5 separate regions of the Homo sapiens genome follow, and all the other regions are linked to region 1. The links are contacts of gene promoters, found by promoter capture Hi-C in blood cells and fetal thymus (Javierre and others, 2016). All regions are on one chromosome and are shown on one strand. Each heading gives the region's core, a stretch centred on a gene start or on the middle of the fragment in contact. The rest is flanking DNA. Distances are from core to core; before and after follow the strand shown.

What was found. The method cuts DNA at HindIII sites, captures the fragments that hold promoters and counts their contacts. A CHiCAGO score of 5 or more calls a contact.
Region 2: a contact is called between a fragment that was not itself captured here and the fragment with the promoter of TMEM126A in region 1, in 5 of 17 cell types (naive CD8 T cells, naive CD4 T cells, activated CD4 T cells and 2 more). The highest score is 6.6, in naive CD8 T cells.
Region 3: a contact is called between a fragment that was not itself captured here and the fragment with the promoter of TMEM126A in region 1, in 4 of 17 cell types (naive CD8 T cells, total CD8 T cells, total CD4 T cells and 1 more). The highest score is 7.2, in naive CD8 T cells.
Region 4: a contact is called between a fragment that was not itself captured here and the fragment with the promoter of TMEM126A in region 1, in 1 of 17 cell types (naive CD8 T cells). The highest score is 6.4, in naive CD8 T cells.
Region 5: a fragment that was not itself captured here is called in contact with the fragment with the promoter of TMEM126A in region 1 in 2 of 17 cell types (total CD8 T cells and activated CD4 T cells); the score reaches 6.1 in total CD8 T cells.

Annotation. Positions count from the first base shown.
Region 1 is chr11:85,646,674-85,649,333 of GRCh38, reverse strand. It overlaps TMEM126A (transmembrane protein 126A), which reads right to left and starts at 1,367. Exons shown (of 5, transcript NM_032273.4): 1 at 1,245-1,367. RefSeq lists enhancers at 1,117-1,386, 1,557-1,606. The HindIII fragment of the contact is 2,186 bases long and covers 1-1,446 here.
Region 2 is chr11:86,031,224-86,033,883 of GRCh38, reverse strand. It overlaps PICALM (phosphatidylinositol binding clathrin assembly protein), which reads left to right. Exons shown (of 20, transcript NM_007166.4): 2 at 2,273-2,415. Among named protein-coding and RNA genes, the nearest start is that of PICALM, 37 kb to the left of the region's middle. The HindIII fragment of the contact is 1,022 bases long and covers 854-1,875 here.
Region 3 is chr11:86,011,535-86,014,194 of GRCh38, reverse strand. PICALM (phosphatidylinositol binding clathrin assembly protein) reads left to right here. Exons shown (of 20, transcript NM_007166.4): 6 at 1,803-1,914. Among named protein-coding and RNA genes, the nearest start is that of PICALM, 56 kb to the left of the region's middle. The HindIII fragment of the contact is 2,569 bases long and covers 27-2,595 here.
Region 4 is chr11:85,986,688-85,989,347 of GRCh38, reverse strand. The region is part of intron 13 of PICALM (phosphatidylinositol binding clathrin assembly protein); the gene reads left to right. Among named protein-coding and RNA genes, the nearest start is that of PICALM, 81 kb to the left of the region's middle. The HindIII fragment of the contact is 2,027 bases long and covers 307-2,333 here.
Region 5 is chr11:85,969,286-85,971,945 of GRCh38, reverse strand. The region is part of intron 19 of PICALM (phosphatidylinositol binding clathrin assembly protein); the gene reads left to right. Among named protein-coding and RNA genes, the nearest start is that of PICALM, 98 kb to the left of the region's middle. The HindIII fragment of the contact is 995 bases long and covers 797-1,791 here.

The DNA.
Region 1 (2,660 bases), core at 118-2,617:
GTTTGTTGATGTCTGCACTAGTTAGGGTGAAAATGTGAAGGGAATGGTGAATGATGAAGATTTGGCTCAGGTTTCAGGGTAACAGTTAAGAAAAACAAAGGCTGGATGCAGTGGCTCACGCCTGTAATCCCAGCACCTTGGGAGGCCAAGGCAGACGGATCACCTGAGGTCAGGAGTTCGAGACCAGCCTGGCCAACATGGTGAAACTCCCTGTCTTTTAAAAATACAAAAATTAGCCAGGCACGGCGGCAGCTGCCTGTAATCCCAGCTACTCGGGAGGCTGAGGCAGGAGAATCGCTTGAACCTGGGAGGTGGAGGTTGCAGTGTGCCGAGATCTCGCCACTGCACTCCAGCCTGGGTGAGAGCGAGACTCGGTCTACAAAAAAAAAAAAAAAAACAGTTCAGGGATAACAACAAAGGAAAACATGCTTTTATGAAACCAGATTTTCTCATTTCCTACAACATTACAGGCACTCGTTTAAATATTTATTGCTACCTGTTTTATATCGATAAGAGGTCATTTGGAAATGTTGATTACCTTGACATTCCATATCTCTAGACTTAAAGCTAACCTAATAAGTACAAAGCAGCCTTAGAAATTTATGTCTAGGTTTCTGGTAGTCAAATTTTTGAGGGCCTTGGCTACGATAAGATGATAAGACACAATCTCTGCTGTACAGGAGCTCTGAATGATTTTGTGTATGGGGTGGTGAAATATATAATCAAATTTAGTATGTATATATTGTACTGAGGGCAATTAAGTCACTCAATTCAGTATAAGTGCTGACTGGGCAGCCCCTGTGGGCATTTTGTCTCCGATATTAATAACAAATATCTATCAAAGACAACGCCGCCTGTAAAAACTACAAATATTTCGAAAGATTTTTGTGTTACCTATCTCATGTCATTCTTGGAAGAGCTCTGAGAGATAGGCAGTGTGGGGCCTATCTGAAAGAGAAGTAAAGTGGGACCTCTGAAAATCAAATTTGGCCGTGGTCACCTTGTAAATTGACAGTAAACCTGGGATTAAATTCAATCTCAGGCATTTCTCCTTTCTACTGAGTTAATTTAAATATAAGGTCTTTCCTTCTAGAGTGCAAAGTGAAAAGACAGCAGGAAGAGCTAACTACACTTCTACTTGCTCTCATTTACGCGCAGCGCTGCTGGTAGCTAGCGTGTCACCGCGTCGTGCTTCTCCTGACACCGGGACATTTACTTCACCCCCTCCCCCGGAATACCAGTACCTTATGCTCTCCTCCCAGCAGCCTGTGGGTGCCTCCTCCTTCCTCAGCCACGCCGGAGTTCACTGTGGCCTTTGCTCAAATTACCTGGGCGCAGCCATCTTTGGCTGACTCGTGACGCGGCGTGGGCGGGCGCCGGGTCGCGGCTGCTAATTGGACTGCGGGACGGAGGTTGCAGCCAGCAGCGGCTTTGGGCTGAGAAGCTTCCGGCCCTAGGAGGTGCCGGGAGGCTAAGCGTTGAGGTTTGTTTGCCTGGCGTAGAGTGTGCTCGTTTCACCTACTCTTGCCTCCCAGGACAGAACTTGTAGAAATTGTGAAATTTCGAGATATAAGTTGGGTGACCCTCAGTCAGCCTCTTCCATTGAAAACGTACCTCGGGCATATTACTTAACTTCCTGGTCAGTAGAGCCTACTTACGTTCTTGGCATGGGGTAAATGAAAACTGCACAGCTCTTGGCATATGATAGCTACTCAGGTTAAAAATAAGTCAAAGGTGAGCTATTTCTTGGCTCTATCGATTTTCTACTCTCCCTAGGAACTTAAGCTCCCTGTGCCATGTTTTGATCTGTATTGATTGCCCTACCATAATCAGCACCTCAGAGCTGCAGCTTATTTTTCTGAGGATTTCTCGTGTTCTCCAGAGTACTGCTTATTTGGAAGCAGTGTTGGGTGAAAGTCATCTTATTTCTTCTTGCTTTTTAAGTATAAATACTAGAAAATTTAGAATTATATATGTGGCTTGCATTATATTTCTATTGGACAGTGCTGTTCAGAAGGTACCTCTAATGCTCTCCTCCCAGCAGCCAGTGGATGCCTCACCAGGTCTTCCTCAGCCATGCTGGGGCTCCCTGCAACCTTTGCTCAGTTCGCTTGGACTAATTAACCCAATAGAAGGGAAAAATGCCTACAATTGAATTTTATCTTAACTCCATTAAGATTAGCAGGTAAACATTGTGCCAAAAAATATATAACTAACTGTAGCAATAAATACATGATCATAACACATTATCAGAAATCTTAATTATTCTCATCCTCTCAAATTTCTGAACAAGTGATAAAGTGTTGCATTGTCCAGATAATTTTTATACTGTCTCTCCATTGCAGGGTTGCTTGACCATTAGGCTCCATAGTGCCAAGAAGTCTGTAATTGCAGTTTCTAAACTTGCACAAATAGAAAGACTTATTTTCACGAAGGTGTACAAGAAGGAAAATTCCTAGTCTTTTTTTTATTTTTATTTTTTATTTTTTAGACAGAGTTTTGCTCTCGTCGGCCAGGCTGGAGTGCAATGGCCTGATCTCAGCTCATTGCAACTTCTGCCTTCCAGGTTCAAGCGATTCTCCTGCTTCAGCCTCCAGAGTAGCTGGGATTACAGGCGTGTGCCACCACGCCCAGCTGATCAGCTGATTTTTTTTTTTGTT
Region 2 (2,660 bases), core at 115-2,614, 380 kb before region 1:
GTAAGGACACAATCTTGGATGCTTTTGAAAAAATGTCATGTTAAGAATACCCATATGCATACCAAAATGAATGTGTCTTAAAAAATATGACTGATCTTTATGTTTGAGGCATTATTCTAGGTCTTTGGGGATAGAGTTGAGAACAAAAAAGCCCTGCCCACATGGAACTTAAAAACATTTTAATTGAGAGAGAAAGACATTAAACAAATTAAGATGAGTTCAGTGGCAATAAATGCTTTGGAGAGAAATAAGCAGAGTAAGGGGGATAATGAGGGTTTAGAGGTAGGGGAATGCCCAAGGCTTTGTTATTTTGCGTAAATATTCAGGGAAGTTTATCTAATATGGTGACACTTTAGCAAATAGCTATGGGAAGGAAGCGAAGGGAGCAAGCAGCATAGGTATCTAGCAGAAGAGAATTCTAGGCAGGAGGAACAACAGTACCAAACACCTGAGATAAGAGTGCTTGGCATATGGGAGGCATTGCAAAGAAGATGGCAGTGATGCAGTGGGGGGAAGAACAGATCACAAAGGGAATATAGTATGGATATATGTACATATACATACACATATGTTTTATAACATACATAGTACAGTATATATATATACACACACACCATGCACCATGCACTATATAGTATTAAATTGTGTGTGTGTTTGTGTGTATAAAGTACTGTCGTTGAAACTGAAGTCTAGTGTAATATGTTCAGTGCCATAGGCCAGTTATAAAGTGCTATGAAGATCTAGAGAAGGCAGAGATTAAATTCCATTTTTTACTCTCAGAAGTTGAAGCATGCATATCCAAGTTGGATTTACTGTTTCATTTTTGTTGCAAATAGTCTGAATTGTGAAAGCTTTGTGTCATTCTGTTGTTCCATGGGCACTCTGTTTTGTTCTTTGTTCTTTAAGCAGTATTGGCCACCGTAGCTGCTTATCTAAAATGCATGTGTTTATCAGATATTAACTTATATAATAATTGGACCTATTAAAGGAAAAATTTTAAGTAAATGTTGGTAGTTACATTGTCATTTCTTGCTAGCAATCAAGGCCAAGTTAGATCATTTGAATTCATATTTAATCATTACACACTGAAGATTAAAAGTGAACAAATTAATGTCATGAATAACTTTTTTCCCTTTATTGTAGTATAGCTGAGACATTTATACATTACATTTTATATATATTTTAAAAGTAACTCATTTCTTGGTTTTCTCCTCTGTTATATCTCTAAATTGGATTATATTATATTACATTTTTTATTGAGGCAGAGTCTCACTCTGTTGCCCAGGCTGGAGTGCAGTGGTACTATCTCCGCTCACTGCAACCTCCGCCTCCCAGGTTCAAGCAATTGTCCTGCCTCAGCCTCCTGAGTAGCTGGGATTACCCATGCCCGCCACCAAGCCCAGCTAATGTTTTTGGTATTATTAGTAAAGATGGGGTTTCAGCATATTGGCCAGGCTGGTCTCGAACTCCTGATCTTGGGTGATCCACCCCACCTCAGGTTTCCAAAGTACTGGGATTACAGGGGTGAGCCACCGCACCCAACCTATTTTACATTTTCTTCATTGAGTTTACGAATAATATCTCTTAAACAGATTGTAGGTTACTCTTCTTAAGTTTTATTGAGAATCTTTTTTTCCAGTTTTGTTCTCAGTATTACCTAGTTATCAACTGATCTGAGCTAATTCAGTAGAACAGAGGGGAGAGAAGGAGTATAAATCTTTTGTATGAACAAACAGATCCAACTCAATTACAGACCAGATCTCTGCCCTGTTATCTTCCTGTTGCAAAGACAGCATTCTAGGGTGGATGTTCATAAAGATAGTTTGATCTTCATTTTGTTCATTCTTCTGTATGGATGATTTCTTTAAATAAGCTTTATTTAAAGAAAAATGTTAAAGTTAATTTTAAAGAGATGAATAATACCAGTATTTTAATGGAAGGTTTTTAAGTAGTAAGGAAATAGAAGGTTCCTCAAAACCTTGAAACAATTCATTTTGAGATGACCAAAGTACTTGAGAGAGAATTATACCCTGAGGGAGTTTGATTTATTTTTTGGTATTGTTGATCATTTATGTGATTCTAATTGGTACCCTGCTTCTTAGGTAGATTATGGTAGTCTCAATTGCTCTAATTGAGAGATTTTTAACAACATCTCCAAACTATTACTGCTCCACTTTGTGTTAAATCTTTTGCCTGTTTGTATGCAGATCTGGTATTAACAATAAATTAAAACCACAGAGGAAATTAATCATTTAAAAATTTTTTATTGCAGACTTAATTCAGTGCACAAATGAGATGAATGTGAACATCCCACAGTTGGCAGACAGTTTATTTGAAAGAACTACTAATAGTAGTTGGGTGGTGGTCTTCAAATCTCTCATTACAACTCATCATTTGATGGTGTATGGAAATGAGGTAAGCAGAATTTTTATTGAACAAGTATACTGATGTGTTGACTTATTGTTAGCTAGCTTCTCTCACTGAAACTTCAGAAACAGCTCCCAGGTACAAAGGTCAAGGTGCCTAGCCAGAAATATAATTATAGACCCTGTAATTTGAGGAAAGATAGCTTGTAAGCCAGAAAGCAAAAAGTGGGTTAGAGCACAGAGGACATCAATAATGGATCAAGAAGCAAAGATTAATGCCTAGAAATGGGTTCC
Region 3 (2,660 bases), core at 62-2,561, 360 kb before region 1:
ATTGTTTAATTGCTAGTTTTTAAGCTTCTTCAGGGCAGGAACTAGGTCACTTTTGTTCTCTGTTGTACCCCCATTGCCTATTAATGTGGCACATAGTAAGTGTTCAGTAAACATTCAATAAATCTTACAGGTATTTCATAGACTAAAACAGAGATTATCCAACTACAGCTTACTGCCTGTTTTTGTATGTTTTTTAAGTGGTTGAAAATAATTAAATGGTATTTTGTAACAGGTGGAAGTTACATGAAATTCCAACTTCAGTGTCCTCAATAGTATTATTGGAACACAGCCAAGCTCACTGATACATATTATCTATGGCTGTTTTATGTTACAACAGCAGAGTTCAAAAGTTATGACAGAGACTGTGTGGCCCACAGTCTAAAATATTTACCATCTGACCCTTTACAAAAAAAAGTTTGCTGACCCCTGCTCTAGAAGGCATGGGGTACTGATGCAGTTATTCAACATTATTTTGGTTTGTATAGAATCTCAGGGTCCAACCATGCATATTTTTCTTAATATATTGTATTTGTTTAAAATTTCTTATTCTTTTCAATGTCTGTATTGTACTTTGTTATATAATAACAATTTATCTAATCCTCCTGTTGATAGATGTTTATTCTGTTTTTTTATCCTAAACAGTGCTACACTCAATTCTCTCTCCTCTCTCTGTCTCTTGTCTGTCTCTCCCTCTGTGTGTGTGTGTGTTTCTATTTGTAAACCTATTTCAATAGGTTTAACACCCAGAAAAAGAATGTGGTGGTTCAAATAATATAAACATTTAAATTTTTAATAAATATTGCTTATATTCCAAAAGGGTGAGCCACTAACTTCTCAACAGGTGTCTGTTTTTGCTTTTTCATCTTTTTTTTGTTTTTTTGAGACAGCATTTTTCTCTGTCACCCTGGCTGGAGTTCTGTGGCATGATCATAGCTCATTGCAGCCTCCAACTCCTGGGCTCAAGCAATCCTCCCACCTCAGCCTCCTGAGTAGCTGGGACTACAGGGGTACACCACCATGCTCAGCTGCCTTTTCTTGGTTTTAGTTTTTTGTAGAGACAAGGTCTTGCTGTGTTGCCCAGGCTGGTCTCATTTGAAACTGCCAGGCTCAAGCAATCCTCCTGCCTCGGCCTCACAAAGTGCTGGGACCACAGGCATGAGCTACCGTGTTCTTTTCTTTTTTCATTCTTATGGGCACTGAGTAATATAGTCTGATGTTCAGGAAAGGATATTTTAGTAATTTGATTTGATTATTGTATTTTAATTTACCTGATAAGTGAAGTTGTATTTCTTTTCACGTTATTATCCATATGTATTTTTTATTTTGTAAATTGTTTTCATTTACTTTATTTATTATTAGGATTCTCCCTATATAATGGACATCAGCTCTACTAGATAGTCTGCAAATAACTTTTTTACCAGTTTTTTGTTTGCCATTCAATTTTGTGCTTAGTTTTTCTATATATAACGAGTTAATTTTCATGTGCTAAAAAAGAACTTAGAATTAATTTGGTTTATCTTTTTGATTTATTCCTTGAGATAAAACTAAAAATATTTCCAGTATTCTTTTAGTCAAATAAATACAATTATCTGGTTACAGCAAATTTAATAATAATAAATAATGTTCATTTATATGGTAGCTACTGCACCGTGATCTTTATGTATGTATTAGAGAAAATAAATGTATTTTTCACTAACATGCCTAATGCATGAATTTACTGTATCTTAATTTGAAGGAAATCTTTTTGTCAATGTCATTTAAAACCTAAGATTAGCTAATTTTATTTTCCAATTTTTCCCTAGGTTAATAGCAATGAACTTACAAATGGGGTAATAAATGCTGCCTTCATGCTCCTGTTCAAAGATGCCATTAGACTGTTTGCAGCATACAATGAAGGAATTATTAATTTGTTGGGTAAATACTGCTGTAGCCTAATAACATTTCTTATCTTGTGTCATATGGATAAACAATATTGACTGAGTTGTTACTTAAAGCTGGCTAAAAATTTATTATGATATATTCATTCATTGTAACAGTTAATTTGGAGAAAAGAGTTTTATACCTAATTACTTCTGCAAGTGATTACATATTTTTATACCCAGGATGTTCAGCAAGATGAACTTTATTTTTTAGATGTATCTATGTTTTTTCCACCCATTTTATTAATTTTTAGAAATATAAAAGTGCCTTTAAAATTTAGCTGGGTTAAGATAGTAAGTTTTAGGCTGAGGCAGGAGAATTGCTTGAACCCAGGAGGCGGAGGTTGCAGTGAGCCTAGATCGTGCCATTGTACTCCAGCCTGGGCAACAAGAGCGAAACTCAGTTTCAAAAAAAAAAAAAAAACAAAAAGGATAGTAAGTTTTATGTTACAGGTATTTTACCACAATAAAAAAAGATGGGAAAAAAACAAATATTTTGTCCCAGAAGAATATTGTTTTCTCATAATCAACTCCATAATGAACTTTTAAAAAATTTAAATCTGTTTTTTATAGTCTGAAGTAACGTGGACTTACTCAGGGATGCTTTAATCTATAGGGATAGGGAAATTTGGCTTATTTTTTCACAAGTGAAAAATAAAGGTTTTTCTATAAAGCTTTGGAAGGCATAGTCTTCAATACTATAATTAGTATAAATTAACCTTTTCTATGTATACATTAAAC
Region 4 (2,660 bases), core at 71-2,570, 340 kb before region 1:
AGGAAGAGAAGGAAGAATTAACTAGAAAGCAAGTTAGTAGATCAGACAAAGTTCCAAGTCAGGTGTTGTAAAAATATGACTAGTCTAATAGCTTAAAACACATATATATCCAAAGTGTGATAATTCATTGCAGTAATTCCTTCATGTCATTTTGATACAAGTTGCCAGCCCTTACTCTATAGGATTAAGAACAATCCAGAAAAATCAGAAGAGCTATGTATCTAGATAGCCTCTGACCTTGACAGAGGGAAGACATTTATCTGATACAATGATCAGTGTAATAGGTAGCTTGTCCTCATTGAAGCTTTAAGAACACTGAATTGTACATAAAGGAGAGTCGTGGTCTTAACTATGCTGCATATGTGAGTGTCTGTGAAAGTGTGTAGGCTTGCTTTCTTAGCTGTAAAACCACACATTAGAGGACACGATAGTGTTGGCTAAAAAGCCAACTGCCTAATATTTCTTTTCTAATGAGATACAGTGTTGGGTTTTTCTTTCTAATTTATGCAAACGGAATATGTTTTTTTAATACTTCATGGAGCCTTAAGTTCTTTTTTTAGCAAGTTGTAATTTGAAGAATGCCAAGTGCTTGGGCTCCCCCCATTTTTTGTTTTTCTTGATTACCCATCCCACTCATAACTGTTCCTCCTCTTCTCTTTCTTTTTTTTCTCTTCTTCCTCTTCTTCCTCACGTGCCTCCCTAGCTGCTTCCCTGATTCTTTCCTTCCCCTTCCCCTCTTTTTCTCCCTTTCCTTACTCCTTTCCTGCCTTCCTGCCTTGTATGCCTTGTCAGAATTTTTTGTGTCACTTAAGTTTGTCCTAATACTTCCTTTATGTGCCTTGTTTCTTCTACTGTAGCCAGCTCATTTGGAGCTAGATAACAGTATCTTTACAACTTATTTATGCAGGAAGGATTTTTTTTTTCTTAAAATGAGTTTTTATAAACTTGGTAAGAAAAAATATACTTATTTGCTTTCAGAGAACACACTAGTTTTTGCCTAACTTCATTTGCCTTAATTAAACACTTGGTGGTTTTATGAATAGTTGCTTATCATCTTCTTACTTTACTCCATTCTCAAAACCTTAAATTTTCAGAAGCATGAAAACGTTTTAATATTACAAGGTTATGGAATCTGAAGTTTTGTATTATCTATGTCTTTCCACATATGTTCAAGGCCAGTGTGGTAGCAATAAAACCTCAAAAGTCCAGCTGATATTTTCTGTGTGCATAGTAGTTATTACTGTAGTTAAGTTGGCATTAAAAAGAATGTTTGACACAACTAAAGAATTGAGGCTCTTGATTACAAGAATTGGACAGGACTAAATGTATTTTAAAATGGAATTTATTAGGGCATTTGATGGTATATGCTTGGAGCCTAGTGAACTTAGGTTTGAATTTTAGTTCTGCTTCATGAACTTGACTTTAAGCAAGTATTTAACCTTTTTAAGGCTATGCAAGTTGGGATAATAGTGTCTTGCAGGATTGTCCTGAAGTTTACATACATGACTATGTAACATCTAGCACTTTGCTAGGTATATAAAAGTATCAAAATGACTACTACTAAAAACCATCTCGGGAGCTGGGTACAGTAGCTGGTACCCATAATTCCAGCTAATTAGGAAGCTGAGGCAGGAGGATAGCTTGAGGCCAGGAGTTTGAGGCCAGCCTCGGCAACATGCAAGACCCTATCTCTCAGAAAATTTAAAGAATTTAAAATTCTTGTATATGTGGACCACATCATAATTAGAATGTACTTCTCACCTAAATTATTATGTAGTCATCAACTAAAATCCTAAACATTGATTTTTTCTTTATTGCTTTTAGATTTTAAAATTGCCAAAGATTATTCACTTTTTTTGGTCTAATATTAGCAATGAAAAGCTCAAGAAGTTCATAAAATTTGGGTTGTTTTTAATAATAGTTATAGCAATAGTAAAAAATTTCTTTTTCTACTTACTATATTATGTAAGGTGAAATACTTGGGATTAAACTGAAAACCCTAATAGATTCTAGAATCAAACAAATGGGGGTTCAAGTCTTGGTTCTGATGCTTACTAAATCTTTGACCTTGGGTACATTATGTAATCTCTCTTTGTTTCCTCATCTGTAAAACAGGGATAATAATAACTATGTCATAGGGTTTATGTGAGGTTTAAATAATACCCTGTTTATAAAGCCCTTGCTTAGTGCTTAGTAGTGTTTAATAAATGGTAGTAGTTACTTTGACAAAAAAGTATGAGTCCTAATTTATTGTGAAACTACCACCAAAATCAATTAACAATCCACCCAAATTTTGTAAAAGGTGTTTGGAATGTCTTTCTGTCCCCAAAGCTTGTTGATCTTGTACTTTTCAATTAATTTATTATTGTCCTCTTGAGATTTAACCTGCAGGCCAGTGGTTTCTAAATGATAAACTGTGGATTGGTGCTGGTTAGTGAGAAAGTTTTCACTGGGCCTTGGTGAAATGGAAGAGTAAGCAGGACAATGTAATGATATCATAAAGTTAACCTTAACTCAGAGCTCAGCGCCTGCTCTTTTTAGCATGTGCGCACGCGTGTATGTGTGTGTGTGTATTTCTGTAAACTTTCTCTTTTAGAATAGTGATACTAGCTGGGTCTTTTTGTTTTAAATAACTTTTAAAAATTAAAAGTTGGCGAGGG
Region 5 (2,660 bases), core at 45-2,544, 320 kb before region 1:
CTGGGCTTGGTGGTGCATGTCTGGAATCCCAGCTACTTGGGAGGCTGAGGTGGGGGAATTGCTTGAACCAGGGAGGCAGAGGTTGCAGTGAGCCTGGATTGGGCCATTGCACTCCAGGCTGGGCGACAAGAGCTAAACTCCATCTCAAAACAAACAAAAAATTGCTTGTCATCCAGCATCTGCTCTGTTTTTGTTTTGTTTTTTTTTTTTGAGACAGGGTCTTGCTCTGTCACCCAGACTCGAGTACAGTGGTGCGATCTCGGCTCACTGCAACCTCCATCTCCCATGTTCAAGCCATCCTCCCGCCTTGGCCTCCTGAGTAGCTGAGATTACTGGTGTATGCCACCATGCCTGGCTAATTTTTGTATTTTTTTTAGAGATGGAGTTTTGCCATGTTGCCCAGGCTGTTCTTGAACTCCTGAGCTCTAGCAGTTCATCTGCCTCGGCCTCCCAAAGTGCTGGGATTACAGGTATGAGCCACCGTACCCACCCAGCATCTGCTCTTAACCCAGGTTTTACGTCCTGTTGCCTTCTAAAACCCACATAACCGTTTCACAGAAACACCAGAAAAGTGCCAGAATTTCCTTGTGCATGAAAAAAAACAGGGACAGAAATACCTTTTCTTAATTACTTTATATCAGAAGAGAAGTGAATGAGAACATTAGGGTAATAAGTTTCTAGTTGAAAGATAAAATTTGAAATGAGTACTTAAGTATTACTGAAAAAGCAAATGAAGGAAGCAAATTGATAACTAGGAAAATAAAATCAGGCAGCAATGAAATGGCTTGAAGAAGCTTTGGTCTCTCTACATAGTCATTTGAATCATTTGAAAGTCAGAATCTTAAATTTGTTAATGTTACTTTTAATTATTTTGTAATTCCTTTGTTCTGCATGTATCTAATCACAAAGTCTCACTAATTATTCCTCTGCTATAATTAGACCCACCCTTCTCCTTGCATTCTACAGCTTTCACCCAGTCTTGGAACCTCTTTATTCACACTTGTTTTGCAATAGTCACTCATGTTCTCTGCCTCCCCGATTTAATCCGTTTTGTAAATATTGGAACAATCTTTTGTAGGCAGTATTTGTAATACCCATCTCCATACTCAAACATTTAGGGAGGTGAATCTTTTTTGTGTGTGGGTAATGGAGTCTCACTCTGTCCCCCAGGCTGGAGGGCAGTGGTACGATTTCAGCTCACTGCAGCCTCTGCCTCCTGTGTTAAACCTCCTGCCTCAGCCTCCCCGGCAGCTGGGATTACAGGCACACGCCACCACACCCAACTAATTTTTAGTAGAGACAGGGTTTCACCATGTTGGCCAGGCTGGTCTCAAACTCCTGGCCTCAAGTGATCCTCCCTCCTGGGCCTCCCAAAGTGTTGGGATTACAGGTGTGAGCCACTGTGTCCAGCCTAAGGAGGTGAATCTAAATATAACTGAACATTTAAAGCCTTTTCTCAGCTTTCCTTCCATCTTAAAACAACCTCATGAAGCCTCCCTATTTATAAGAGTAATAATGAGTTAACGGAATATTCAAGTTCTTCGATTCCATGCTTTTACAATTCTCAATAAGTATCCAGTGTTCTGCTGTTATTTGTCTTTTCCATAAGTCCTTCACCTGCCATAAAGTGGGTTTATTCTTTGTCCAGTCTTCAGTCATCTGGTGTCCCTTTCACATCCTTATGAGATCTGGAATTCTTTTCCTTATTCTGCATTATTTTTTCTTACAGACCTTGTGACTACCTGGCATCCATCCAGTCTAGCAAGGGCTTTCTTTACTAGATTATAAGCTTCATGAAGGCAAGCTTCTCTGGCATGTTTACTTCTCTGTCCCTAGTTCCTAGAACAGTGCCTGACATGTAATAGTTTTTGGACATTATTTGTTAAGTAAATGAATCACCTTGTAAACTTACCTTTTTCATCATATAACTTACTCTGCCCCTCCTTAATCTCTCATTTCACTTACTTGTAACCATTATAATAACTTGCAGTGGTGTTCAAAATTGGTTTGATTTGTTGGCTAATAGTTATGGTGAGCTAAAACATTAGACGGCTCACCTGAGGAATGAAGACAGCTTTATTTTATGTTTATGATTGAACATTTTTAATAATTAAAAATTAAACTGTTGGCCGAACACAGTGGCTCATGTCTGTAATACTAGCACTTTGGGAGGCTGAGGTAGGAGGATCACTTAAGTGCAGGAGTTCCAGACCAACCTGGGCAACATAGTGAGACTGTCTGTTTTTTAAAAAGAAAAAAGTAAACTGTTTATCTTTGAACTAGATAAGGTTTTTCTCATGCTTTAAAGCATGTTTAATGATTCTCAGCCAGTCTCTTGGATTAATTTTGTCCGTAGAATGCTAGCCGAAACCAAAAGATTTTTCTTAATGAATTACCTTTTAATTGTTCTTTCATTGTTTTGTTCCCTTTTTTTCAATTGGATTAAAAAATTATTAAGGGCAGAGATCATCCATCTCTTTGTATGGGGTAAAGTAAATGGTAGTTTAAATGAAAAATGAAATTCCATCAAAATGGAATCTTTTAATCAAATCTAATTTCTACAGCTGTTCCCAAAATTCTTCCTTGCTCTTTGAAGTGTTTGTTTTGAGAGCTGTTACTTACCTAAGGCATAACTTGTAGCTCTTGGTCTCTTGCCTGAT